Regions from separate parts of the Homo sapiens genome. Here all the other regions are linked to region 1. The links are contacts of gene promoters, found by promoter capture Hi-C in blood cells and fetal thymus (Javierre and others, 2016). All regions are on one chromosome and are shown on one strand. Each heading gives the region's core, a stretch centred on a gene start or on the middle of the fragment in contact. The rest is flanking DNA. Distances are from core to core; before and after follow the strand shown.

Evidence for each region. Contacts are between HindIII fragments. The CHiCAGO score rates a contact against its expected background, and 5 or more counts as called.
Region 2: a contact is called between a fragment that was not itself captured here and the fragment with the promoter of TGFBR2 in region 1, in 1 of 17 cell types (total CD8 T cells). The highest score is 8.6, in total CD8 T cells.
Region 3: a fragment that was not itself captured here is called in contact with the fragment with the promoter of TGFBR2 in region 1 in 1 of 17 cell types (non-activated CD4 T cells); the score reaches 7.7 in non-activated CD4 T cells.
Region 4: a fragment that was not itself captured here is called in contact with the fragment with the promoter of TGFBR2 in region 1 in 1 of 17 cell types (non-activated CD4 T cells); the score reaches 6.0 in non-activated CD4 T cells.

Annotation. Positions count from the first base shown.
Region 1 is chr3:30,605,329-30,607,900 of GRCh38, forward strand. It overlaps TGFBR2 (transforming growth factor beta receptor 2), which reads left to right and starts at 1,273. Exons shown (of 7, transcript NM_003242.6): 1 at 1,273-1,649. The coding sequence starts at 1,556. LOC105377015 (translation initiation factor IF-2-like) reads right to left here and starts at 1,596. Exons shown (of 2, transcript XM_047449400.1): 1 at 818-1,596; 2 at 1-230. The coding sequence starts at 1,596. The coding sequence ends at 1,156. RefSeq lists a silencer at 1,347-1,446. The HindIII fragment of the contact is 4,009 bases long and covers 1-2,572 here.
Region 2 is chr3:32,437,193-32,439,764 of GRCh38, forward strand. All of the region lies in intron 1 of CMTM7 (CKLF like MARVEL transmembrane domain containing 7), which reads left to right. Among named protein-coding and RNA genes, the nearest start is that of CMTM7, 47 kb to the left of the region's middle. RefSeq lists an enhancer at 1-104. The HindIII fragment of the contact is 173 bases long and covers 1,201-1,373 here.
Region 3 is chr3:32,420,510-32,423,081 of GRCh38, forward strand. All of the region lies in intron 1 of CMTM7 (CKLF like MARVEL transmembrane domain containing 7), which reads left to right. Among named protein-coding and RNA genes, the nearest start is that of CMTM7, 30 kb to the left of the region's middle. RefSeq lists an enhancer at 1-330. The HindIII fragment of the contact is 3,926 bases long and covers 1-2,572 here.
Region 4 is chr3:32,388,480-32,391,051 of GRCh38, forward strand. No RefSeq gene overlaps it. Among named protein-coding and RNA genes, the nearest start is that of CMTM7, 2.1 kb to the right of the region's middle. The HindIII fragment of the contact is 2,687 bases long and covers 1-2,572 here.

The DNA of each region.
Region 1 (2,572 bases), core at 23-2,522:
ACACTTAGAATGACAGGAAAGATTTGGGAGTTGGGTTTGGGGGAGGGCTATTTACCTTTATTCCCTGGAGACCCTGGCACAAACCCTTGCCTCTGCAATCTTCCTCTCAGGTAAAGGAATTCATTAAATGAATTGCTAGAAGATCTACTGACCAGAGGGCTGTACAGAATCATATCTTTGAGAGTGGGAAGTAGGTTGATCACATAGTTTATTATCCAATCAGGACATATCTGAAAGAGAAAGGGGGTTCTATTAATATTTAAACTACAAAACATGTACACCAGGAATGTCTTGGGCAAATCTGGTTGCCCTAGCAAGAAAGGAAATTTGAAAGTTTATACTGTTCTGCTCCCATGTTACCCCGTTTGCACATGAGAGGGTAAGTATTCTCTTTCTTCACCTGCATTAAGGGAATAAAAGCACAAGCATTCAGGTGACTCCCAACCCACTTTTAATTTTACAGTTTCTGCTATACTCTATACATTCTGAAAATTACATTTCCCACCACTATCACTTCGTGATAGGTGATCATTTACAATTACTCACTGACTCAGTCCCGGGAAGAGGCGGTGCAAAATGGGACGCTCTATCCAGGTGCTCATTAGAAATGCAGAATCTCTGCCTGCCTCCTAGACCTACTGAATTAGAATCTGCATTTTTAAATAAGATTTCCAGGTGATCAATATGTACATTAAAACTTGAGAAAAACCTCTAGACTTCGACCTAAAGAAAAACATTTTACAACTTGACAGTGTATGCACATACATACATGCATATAGACACAACTGAAGCACAAATTTAATGAAGTAGAATTTACCGTTACTATTTTATTTGGGAAAGAAATGTGCTCGCGACTCAATAGATTGGAGTATTCACTCCTGGATCTCAACTTGCAATTTGAAAACGCATCTCTAAAGCACCTAGGAGCAATCTGAAGAAAGCTGAGGGGAGGCGGCAGATGTTCTGATCTACTAGGGAAAACGTGGACGTTTTCTGTTGTTACTTTGTGAACTGTGTGCACTTAGTCATTCTTGAGTAAATACTTGGAGCGAGGAACTCCTGAGTGGTGTGGGAGGGCGGTGAGGGGCAGCTGAAAGTCGGCCAAAGCTCTCGGAGGGGCTGGTCTAGGAAACATGATTGGCAGCTACGAGAGAGCTAGGGGCTGGACGTCGAGGAGAGGGAGAAGGCTCTCGGGCGGAGAGAGGTCCTGCCCAGCTGTTGGCGAGGAGTTTCCTGTTTCCCCCGCAGCGCTGAGTTGAAGTTGAGTGAGTCACTCGCGCGCACGGAGCGACGACACCCCCGCGCGTGCACCCGCTCGGGACAGGAGCCGGACTCCTGTGCAGCTTCCCTCGGCCGCCGGGGGCCTCCCCGCGCCTCGCCGGCCTCCAGGCCCCCTCCTGGCTGGCGAGCGGGCGCCACATCTGGCCCGCACATCTGCGCTGCCGGCCCGGCGCGGGGTCCGGAGAGGGCGCGGCGCGGAGGCGCAGCCAGGGGTCCGGGAAGGCGCCGTCCGCTGCGCTGGGGGCTCGGTCTATGACGAGCAGCGGGGTCTGCCATGGGTCGGGGGCTGCTCAGGGGCCTGTGGCCGCTGCACATCGTCCTGTGGACGCGTATCGCCAGCACGATCCCACCGCACGTTCAGAAGTCGGGTGAGTGGTCCCCAGCCCGGGCTCGGCGGGGCGCCGGGGGTCTTCCTGGGGTCCCCGCCTCTCCGCTGCGCTTGACAGTCGGGCCCGGCAACCCGGCCCCCGGGCGGAAACGAGGAAAGTTTCCCCCGCGACACTCACGCAGCCCGACTCCCGTAGCTGCAGGGATTGTGAGTTTTTCTTGAAAAAGAGAAGGAAAGTTCAGTTGCAAGGGGCGCGGGGCACGTTTGGTCCCCTTTGTGCGAGCAGGAAAGGCGTTGTGTTGGCCGCGTTCGAGGCGAGCCCCCACCCCCGGAAAGGGAAGTTTGAGAAGTTGGTTATCTGAAGGCGGCCGGGGAGCAGCGGCCCGGAGCGGCAGCCTGAGCTGCCAAAGCAGCCAGCGCACCTGGGCCACTCCGCCCATGGCGATGCCGCGTGCCCACCCAGCTCTTTCTGAGCCACCCGTTCAAAAGGCCAGCTCCTCAGTCCTTAGCTCCTGGAGACGGCCACGCTTTCCCTCAGGCCGGCTTCTTGGCCCGGAGTTTTTGGAAACAAGTTTCAAGAAAATAATCGATTTCCAAAAGAAAGTTAGCTGGCTCCACTGACGCCTTGGCATGGATGGATAGGGAGTGGAGATGCTCAGGTGAAACCGAGAATCCCTCACTGAATGCCTACTGGGTGCTAGAGGCTGTAGATTTTGCCTGGAACAAGATAGTCCTGTCTTCAGGGAGTTGATGGTTCTATGCAATTATCGTTTGTTGGAAACCGAAGGGTTAAAATCCTAACTAGGCTACCCACCTGATCGCTGTCTCTGAAGGTTTTTAAGGAAAAAATAAAAATAAAAAAATATATATATATATTATATATATATAAATATATATATAATTATATATATAAATATATATAATATTAATATATATATGCATGCAGGAATGGGGGTTCTTAAC
Region 2 (2,572 bases), core at 37-2,536, 1.8 Mb after region 1:
AGGGAGTGATGTTTCTTATCTGGAATTCTAATTCCAGTGATTCTGTGGTATCATGGCTGGTCTGTGGGACCCTTGCTTTGAGTTGAGGGCTCTTGCAGTGTTACTTTTAAACCCCTGGACATGGCTGGGCACCGTGGCTCACACCTGTAATCCCAGCACTTTGGGAGGCTGAGACGGGTGGATCACTTGAGGTCAGGAGTTCGAGACCAGCCTGACCAATATGGTGAAACCCTGTCTCTACTAAAAATATAAAAATTAGCCGGCCGTGGTGGTGCACACCTGTAGTCCCAGCTACTCAGGAAGCTGAGGCAGGAGAATCGCTTGAACCCAGAAGGCAGAGGTTGCAGTGAGTGGGGATAGCGCCACTGCACTCCAGCCTGGGTGACAGAGTGAGACTCTGTCTCAAAAGAAAAAAATAGGCCGGGCGCGGTGGCTCACGCCTGTACTCTCGACACTTTGGGAGGCCAAGGCATGCAGATCGCAAGGTCAGGAGATCGAGACTCTCCTGGCCAACATGGTGAAACCCTGTCTCTACTAAAAATACAAAAATTAGCTGGGCATGGTGGCGCATACATGTAATCCCAGCTACTTGTGAGGCTGAGGTAGGAGAATCCCTTGAACCAGGGAGGTGGAGGTTGCAGTGAGCTGAGATGTTGCCACTGCACTCCTGCCTAGCGACAGAGTGAGACTCCATCTCAAAAAAATAAAATAAATAAAATAAACCCCTGGACATTTATGTTAGATATTTTATTTTTATGACAGTTCAATATAAAAGAACAAACCGTTACGAGAGGAGCTAGAAGGCACCTTAAGAGGCAAGTGAACCCTTTGGACAGCATCACTTTGAAGTTACTCTACACAGAAACATCTGTCTTCCAGGAGCCTCCCAGCTGCTTCACTCCGTCCTGAAGTCAGAACCCCTACCTCCAGTCCTCTCTGAATTCAGGCGTGTTTGTGCATTTGCTTTTCTAACTGGGAACACGAAGACACCTGAGAGGGTTGGAGCTGGCGGGAGGAGGGCAGGGATAAACACCCCAGCGCCTTTTCCCCACTATTGTCTTGTTCTTTCTTCCACTTCACCTTTGCTTTCTTTTTTAACTTGTATATTAAGTTCAGGGGTACTTGTGTAGGTTTCTTATATGGTAAACTTGTGTCATGGGAGGGGGTTGTTGTACAGATTATTTTGTCACCCAGGAATTAAGCTTCTAAATAATTCAGGGGGCCCCAGCATTTGCAGAAGTTACCTACTGGCTTTAGAAGAATTTCTGAAAAGTTTGATGTCAGTCAAATCTTTTTTTTTTTTTTAACTTAATATGCTGGCTAAGATGCTGGCTATTTAAAGTTGGAATGAATGAATCCCTGGGCAAAAAGGAAGCTTTTAGGAGCACGCATAAGCACACACCATACTCTGGCTAAATTAGATTTTCTAAAATTGGGCTTTCCTAAAGAAAGTCATATGGTAGATGGCCATAGGCCCAGTGAACCGAATTCAGAAAGTGTTATTTCATGAGCAAGTTTCCCAGAAAGGTTCGAGATGTTTCTGATAGAGCAGGAATGTACTTCCTACTACACAGTACTCAGCCCTGGAGGCTCAGAGCAGGAAGACCTGACCTGCACAGGCCCCTTTTGTTGGCTGGGAAACTTCCACATCCCTGTGTCACCATGAAAAAGAGCTAACTTTGTCTTCAACGACGAGTTGGAAAATTATTTTAATCTCTGCATTAAACTAGATGCAAAATTGCCTCTCTACCTAGGAATCACGCTGCATAATCCCACATTATCTGCATTTTCAGTCATGCCTTGAATAATGATACTTGAGTTCTTGAGGAGGTCATTGTGGGGCTGGGAAGACCCCTAGACTTCCCCATGTAGATGTGGCCTGGAAGTAAGACTAACGTAGCAGCAAAGCCCTGGCGATCATGCACACTCCTGAGTAAGGCAGAGGTGTGAATCATTATATCACCATGGCTGGCTAGCTTCAGAGGAACCGAAAAAATGAAAACACTTGCGTTGCTCATTAGCAAAGGGAAATACACAAATGTTGAGGGACTCTTTGTGTCACAGCCACACTCTTCTGTTTCGATCTGGTAAGCAGAGCACTCTCCATACCTGCTTCAAGCTTCCAGCTGAGAGTTCTCTTTTAGCTGTTGTACCTATTGCTGAGGATCTTGATAGTGGGCTAGCAACAAGGGGCTTTAGAAAATAAGAGCATTTCAGCATCAACTGTTTTAACTGGAGTAAGATCCATTTTGTGATTTGATTTGATTTTTATTTTTTTAGAGACAGACTTTCACTCTGTCTTGCAGGCTGGAGTGCAGTGACGTGATAATAGCTCACTGCAACCTCAACCTCCTAGGCTCAATTGATCCTCCCACCTCAGCCTCCCAAGTTGCTGAGACCACAGGTGCATGCCACCACGCCCAGCTAGTTTTTGTATTTTTTGTAGAGACAGGGTCTTGCTTGTTGCCCAGGCTGGTCTCAAACTCCTGGCTTCAGGTGATCCACCCGCCTTGGCCTCCCAAAGTGCTGGGATTGCAGGCGTGAGCCTGGGATGCCAGGCATGCACCAGGCC
Region 3 (2,572 bases), core at 26-2,525, 1.8 Mb after region 1:
CAGGCAGCAGGGGAGGGCTGACTCTACGCCAGCCTTCTGAAATGACTTCAGCTGTACCTGGGCCTGCAGGTCACAATGATCATGCCTTTGAACTGGGGACACGGTTGAAAAGGCTGGAGGAGGAAGAAAGGGGCAAGGTGTCCACGCCATAGTCCCACTGTCTGCCTGACTGAAGGGCGGTTTACCACAGCTGGCTTTTTGTTCCCTAAAAAATGCAGCGGCCAGAGAGCAGGTGGGAGAGGCCCTCTCTGGGGAGTTGTTCCTCAGAACTGGGTCTGGGGGCAGGAGAGGGGGCCAGCTAATGGCCTGCAGAAGTGGCAAGGCCTGCTGCCTGCTTGCTTGACTCAGCGGTTTAGTTTATGGCAGAGTTTGCACAGACGGAATCGCTTGACCATGTTGTCAACAATCTGAGGCAGCCAAGCCAGCCAGGGAAGTTTTTTTGTTGGTCTCACCGGCTGTCTGGACCCTCCCACTGGAGGCGACCCTGCTCCCCACCTCACCGTGCAGCCTGGGTCCCTGGAGGCTCCCTGGGACATTCCTGCCACCTGCTGCCCTCCTCTCCCACCCAGCTCCTCTCCCTTTTCTTCTGGCCACTATTCTGATTTCAGTCCCCATTGCCTTGCTAGAACTGACACAGCCTCCTACAAACTGACTTCTGTGTCTTTTCTCTCCCATCTCCAGTCCACCTGCTACTAGATTCATTTTCCTGAAGAACAATTCTGCTGTGGCTCTTCTCTGCTCAATAACCTTCACTGGCTCCCCATCGCCCACCTAGCATATCTACTTCCTCAGCCTGGAATCTGATCCCCACCCCATCCCGCCAGCTTTGCTTCCCATCACACCTCTTCACATACCTGTGCAGTTTGCCTAACATGGACAACAACCCTCTTGTTCCCAAATATACTCTTGTGCTTTCCCACCCCTATGCCTTCTGTGGCTGTGTTCCCACTGCCAGAAGCCTCTGATTCCCCTTCTCTGTGTGTTGGAATGCTTTTGTGGAGTCCACACCAGGGCCATGTCTGCTCTTCATACGGGACATGCCTGACCTTCTCCTTCCTCTATTCCTCACAAATTGTAGCTCTCTGGTGGTATTTATCCCCTGTTTTGTTGTCGTTACTTGTGTCTGGATCTTAAGCTCCTTACCCTTTAGGACAGGGTCCGTGTCTAAGCTGTCCTCATATCTTGCTCATCTCCTGGTGACAACACACTGCACTTAGAGGAATCATCATTTTTGTGCTACTTTGTGCCAAGACCTCAAACATTATCCTATTTGTTCCTCCCAAGAAACTTCTGAAAGAAGTTTTAATACCTAACATTTGTTGAGCATTTACTGGAGCAGTACCAGGCTGTTCTAAATATTTTGCCTGAATTAGTTCATTTAATCCTTGTATTAACTCATTAACTCTTTGTAGTATATTTGATTATTATCCCTCATGCCAAAGATGAGGAAACTGAGGCCCAACGGGGTGAACTAGCCCCTACTGTCTGTGTTGAGTGACTGTCTGACCTGTGGGGGTTGCTAGCCATGCTTTATTGCTCCTGTTTGGCCTTCCTTCCTCTGATGGAAGGCAAGCCTTTGGCTAACACTCATACTTCCTTCCCCAGGCCCCACAGGGCACAACGTGATGATCACACGTTCTCAACAATAGTGATTTTTCATCCGTGACACATGCTTACAAATCCCTTAATGGCTTTTCTATTCTTGTTTTGTCGTTTTTTATCCCAGACTAATTTCTTCTTCCCCAGGCTGGCACTTATTTGGCATTGTGCTGCCTGGGGTTTTAATCAAGGCGGCCTACACCCACATTGTGAAACTCAACAGGCACTCACTTCTGGCACGGGCCCAGGGCTGGGTGCCAGGCCTCCTGCTGGGACTGGCCCCACAGCTTCTCCAAATATTTATTTCCCCAGGATAGTGGCAAAAGTACTCAGCAGCAGAACTATTTCTTCTGTGTCAAGGTTCCTTAGGATTATCTTTGGCAAAATGGCAACCAGTGCCGTCTCGTAGCCCTAATGCCAAGCACAGAGCTGGACGTGTATTTGGCCATCAGTAGATAATCCTTGAATGAATAACTTCATTCTCCTTTCCTTTTTAAAAGCTAGGGTTGCCTGACTGGGAAACCAGGAAAATTCTGAAAACAGATGTATCAGTTAGCTTTTGCTAGATAACAAATACAGACACTTCTCAACTTATGGTGAGGTTACTCCTGAGAAATCCATTGCAAGTTGAAAGTACTGTTAAGTCAAAAACGCATTTAATACCCTCAACCTACCAAACATTATAGCTTAGCCTGGCCCACCTGAAACATGCCCAGAACACTTACATTAGCCTACAGTTTGGCAAAATCATTTAGTACAAAGCCTATTTGGTAATAAAGTGTTGAATAACCCAAGTAATTTATTGATGTTCTACTGAATGTATATCACTTCCATACCATTGTAAAGTTGAAAAATCATAAGTTGAACTATCATAAGTCCAGCCATCATAACTGTAGGCACAAAACCTCAGTGGCATACAGCAATAAAAGTTCATTGCTGACATGACTGAGGTCAGCTGGGGATTGGCTCTGCT
Region 4 (2,572 bases), core at 38-2,537, 1.8 Mb after region 1:
TTGGACATCTTGATTTCTCACCAGGTATTCAGAGGTCACCTACCTGGTTGGTTCCCTCTTAGAGTGTGACATCTTTAAAGTGGGCTATGAAGCCCTTTGCCTAAGACCTTGCTTTCCCAAGGGGCAGCTATTCACATCTAGCAGACAACACACTAGTGTAGACATCTCAGTGCACTTGGCAAGCCTCTGAAGCCTCTTCTTGTAAGTCAGGCCAGCAATGGCCCTTGCACTGGCAAGCATCTTGCTCAAGCTCTTAAGTGATCATAATAAAGTGATTAACACAGAGTGCCCAGCACAGTGATTACTTCTGATTAGAGGTGGGTGGTGCATTAGTCAACACCAGGCAGAAAAGCCCAGCAATGTTTCTGAGCAGACTCAGGAAGAGATAGTTGTTCTCAAACTTGAGTATGCATCAGAATCACAGAATGATGGTGAAGGGGGGTGGGGAGTGAGGGTGGGGTTGGGAAGACTTGTTAAGACACACACTGCTGAGCCCTACCCCTAGAGTTTCTGATTCAGCAGGTCAGAGTGGGCCCCTAGAATCTGCATTTCTCACAAGTTCGCAGGTACTGCTGGTTGGGGGGCTATACACTGAAAATCACTGTTAGAAGACTGCTGAATTGGACAAAGGCCCCTCAAAGGAGAAATGATCCAGCACTTGGTTTTTCTGCTTCCCTGAAACCCTCATCTCAACAAAGATGCCCTGTTATCTCCACTGTGGGTCCTGAAGCCTTAGACAAGTACAGAAGTGAAATGTACATCTACATAAAAAAATGATACACAGTACTAACTTCATGCCTGTGGGTATAGAGCCAGAAATGTCACAGCACACCTGCATATCTATCACATTGTCACAGCAGCCCCTAGATGCAATTATTCCTGAATTACAGAGAAACAAATGGAGGTACCAGGCAGCTGTGACTGTTGTCTACAGAGAAGACACACGTGGAAGGCAATTTTTCTTGGTCATGAAAATTGTCAAATGTACATAAAGGTGAAATAAATAGTGTAATAAATCCCCAAATGTTTCAACTGCAGTGGACTCTGGCAATGACAGTGGTTCTCAAATTTGAGTGTGCATCAGAATCACCTAAGAGACTTGCCAAAACAGATATTGCATGGGTATCATCCACCAACAAGAATTATTAGGACTTTGCCACATCGAAAACTCTTCTGATGACAAGACAGCACTGGCAGGGAATAAACTCACAAAGATAGTTTTATGTTTCACTTTGCTTTGTTTTGTTCTTGAGGCAGGGTCTTGCTCTGTCACCCAGCCTGGAGTACAGTGTTGTAATCATGACTCACTGCAGCTTCAACCTCCCGGGCTCAAGCAATCCTCCCACCTCAGCCTCCTGAGTAGCTGGGACTACAGGCATGTGCCACCATGCCCAGTTAATTTTTGTATTTTTTTGTAGAGATGGGGTTTCTCCATGTTGCCCTTGCTGGTGTCAAACTTGGGCTTGTGAGCTTGATTTTGGGATTACAGACATGAGCCACCGTGCCCAGCCAGATTTTTTGATGTTATCTCCAAATGAATAAATGTAAGTATGGCCACAGGGACACTGCTCAAAAGGAACATGATAACATACCTCGTTTTGGTAGTCCCGTTTGGGCCTGTCTTCATTTTTATGTTTTTTTCCTTTTCTTTTTCTTTTTCTTTTTTTAAGAGACAGTGTCTCACTCTGTCACCCAGACAAGAGTGCGGTGGCAAGATCATAGCTCACTGCAATCTCGGACTCCTGGCCTCCAGGGATCTTCATGCCTTGACTTCCCAAAGTGCTGGGATTATAGGTGTGAGCCACCACGCCTGGCCTCTTCATTTTTAAAACAACCCAAAAGGGATACAGAATAGAATGTCACTTGGATAGCTGTTTGACAGCTTTTTCTTTTTCTTGTCTTTTTTTTTTTTTTTAATTGAGACAAGGTCTTGCTCTGTGGCCCAGGCTGGAGTGCAATGCCACTGTCATGGCTCACTGCAGCCTCAACCTCCTGGGCTCCAAGGCTCCTCCAGACTCAGCCTCCTGAACAGGCATGTGCCACTGCACCCAGCTAATTTATTTATTTATTTATTTTTATTTTTATTTTTATTTTGAGACAGAGTCTCGCTCTGTCGCCCAGGCTCGAATGCAGTGGCGCAAGCTCTGCTCACTGCAAGCTCCGCCTCCCGGGTTCACGCCATTCTCAGCATCCCGAGTAGCTGTGACTGCAGGCGCCCGCCACCACGCCCAGCTAATTTTTTGTATTTTTAGTAGAGACGGGGTTTCACCGTGTTAGCCAGAATGGTCTCGATCTCCTGACCTCGTGATCCGCCCGCCTCGGCCTCCCAAAGTGCTGGAATTACAGGCGTGAGCCACCGCGCCCGGCCCAGCTAATTTATTTTTATTTTTTGTTTTTTGTAGAAATGAGGTCTGGCCATGTTCCCCAGGCTGACAGCTTCTAACAGAAGCAAACATATGCTCCCCTTGTAACCAGTGCGTTCACTTGCAGATATTTGTCCCAGAGAAATGAGAGTTTGTATCCACCAAAAAAACGTGTACCATAATAGTGACTATAGCCAGAAAAGAGATGA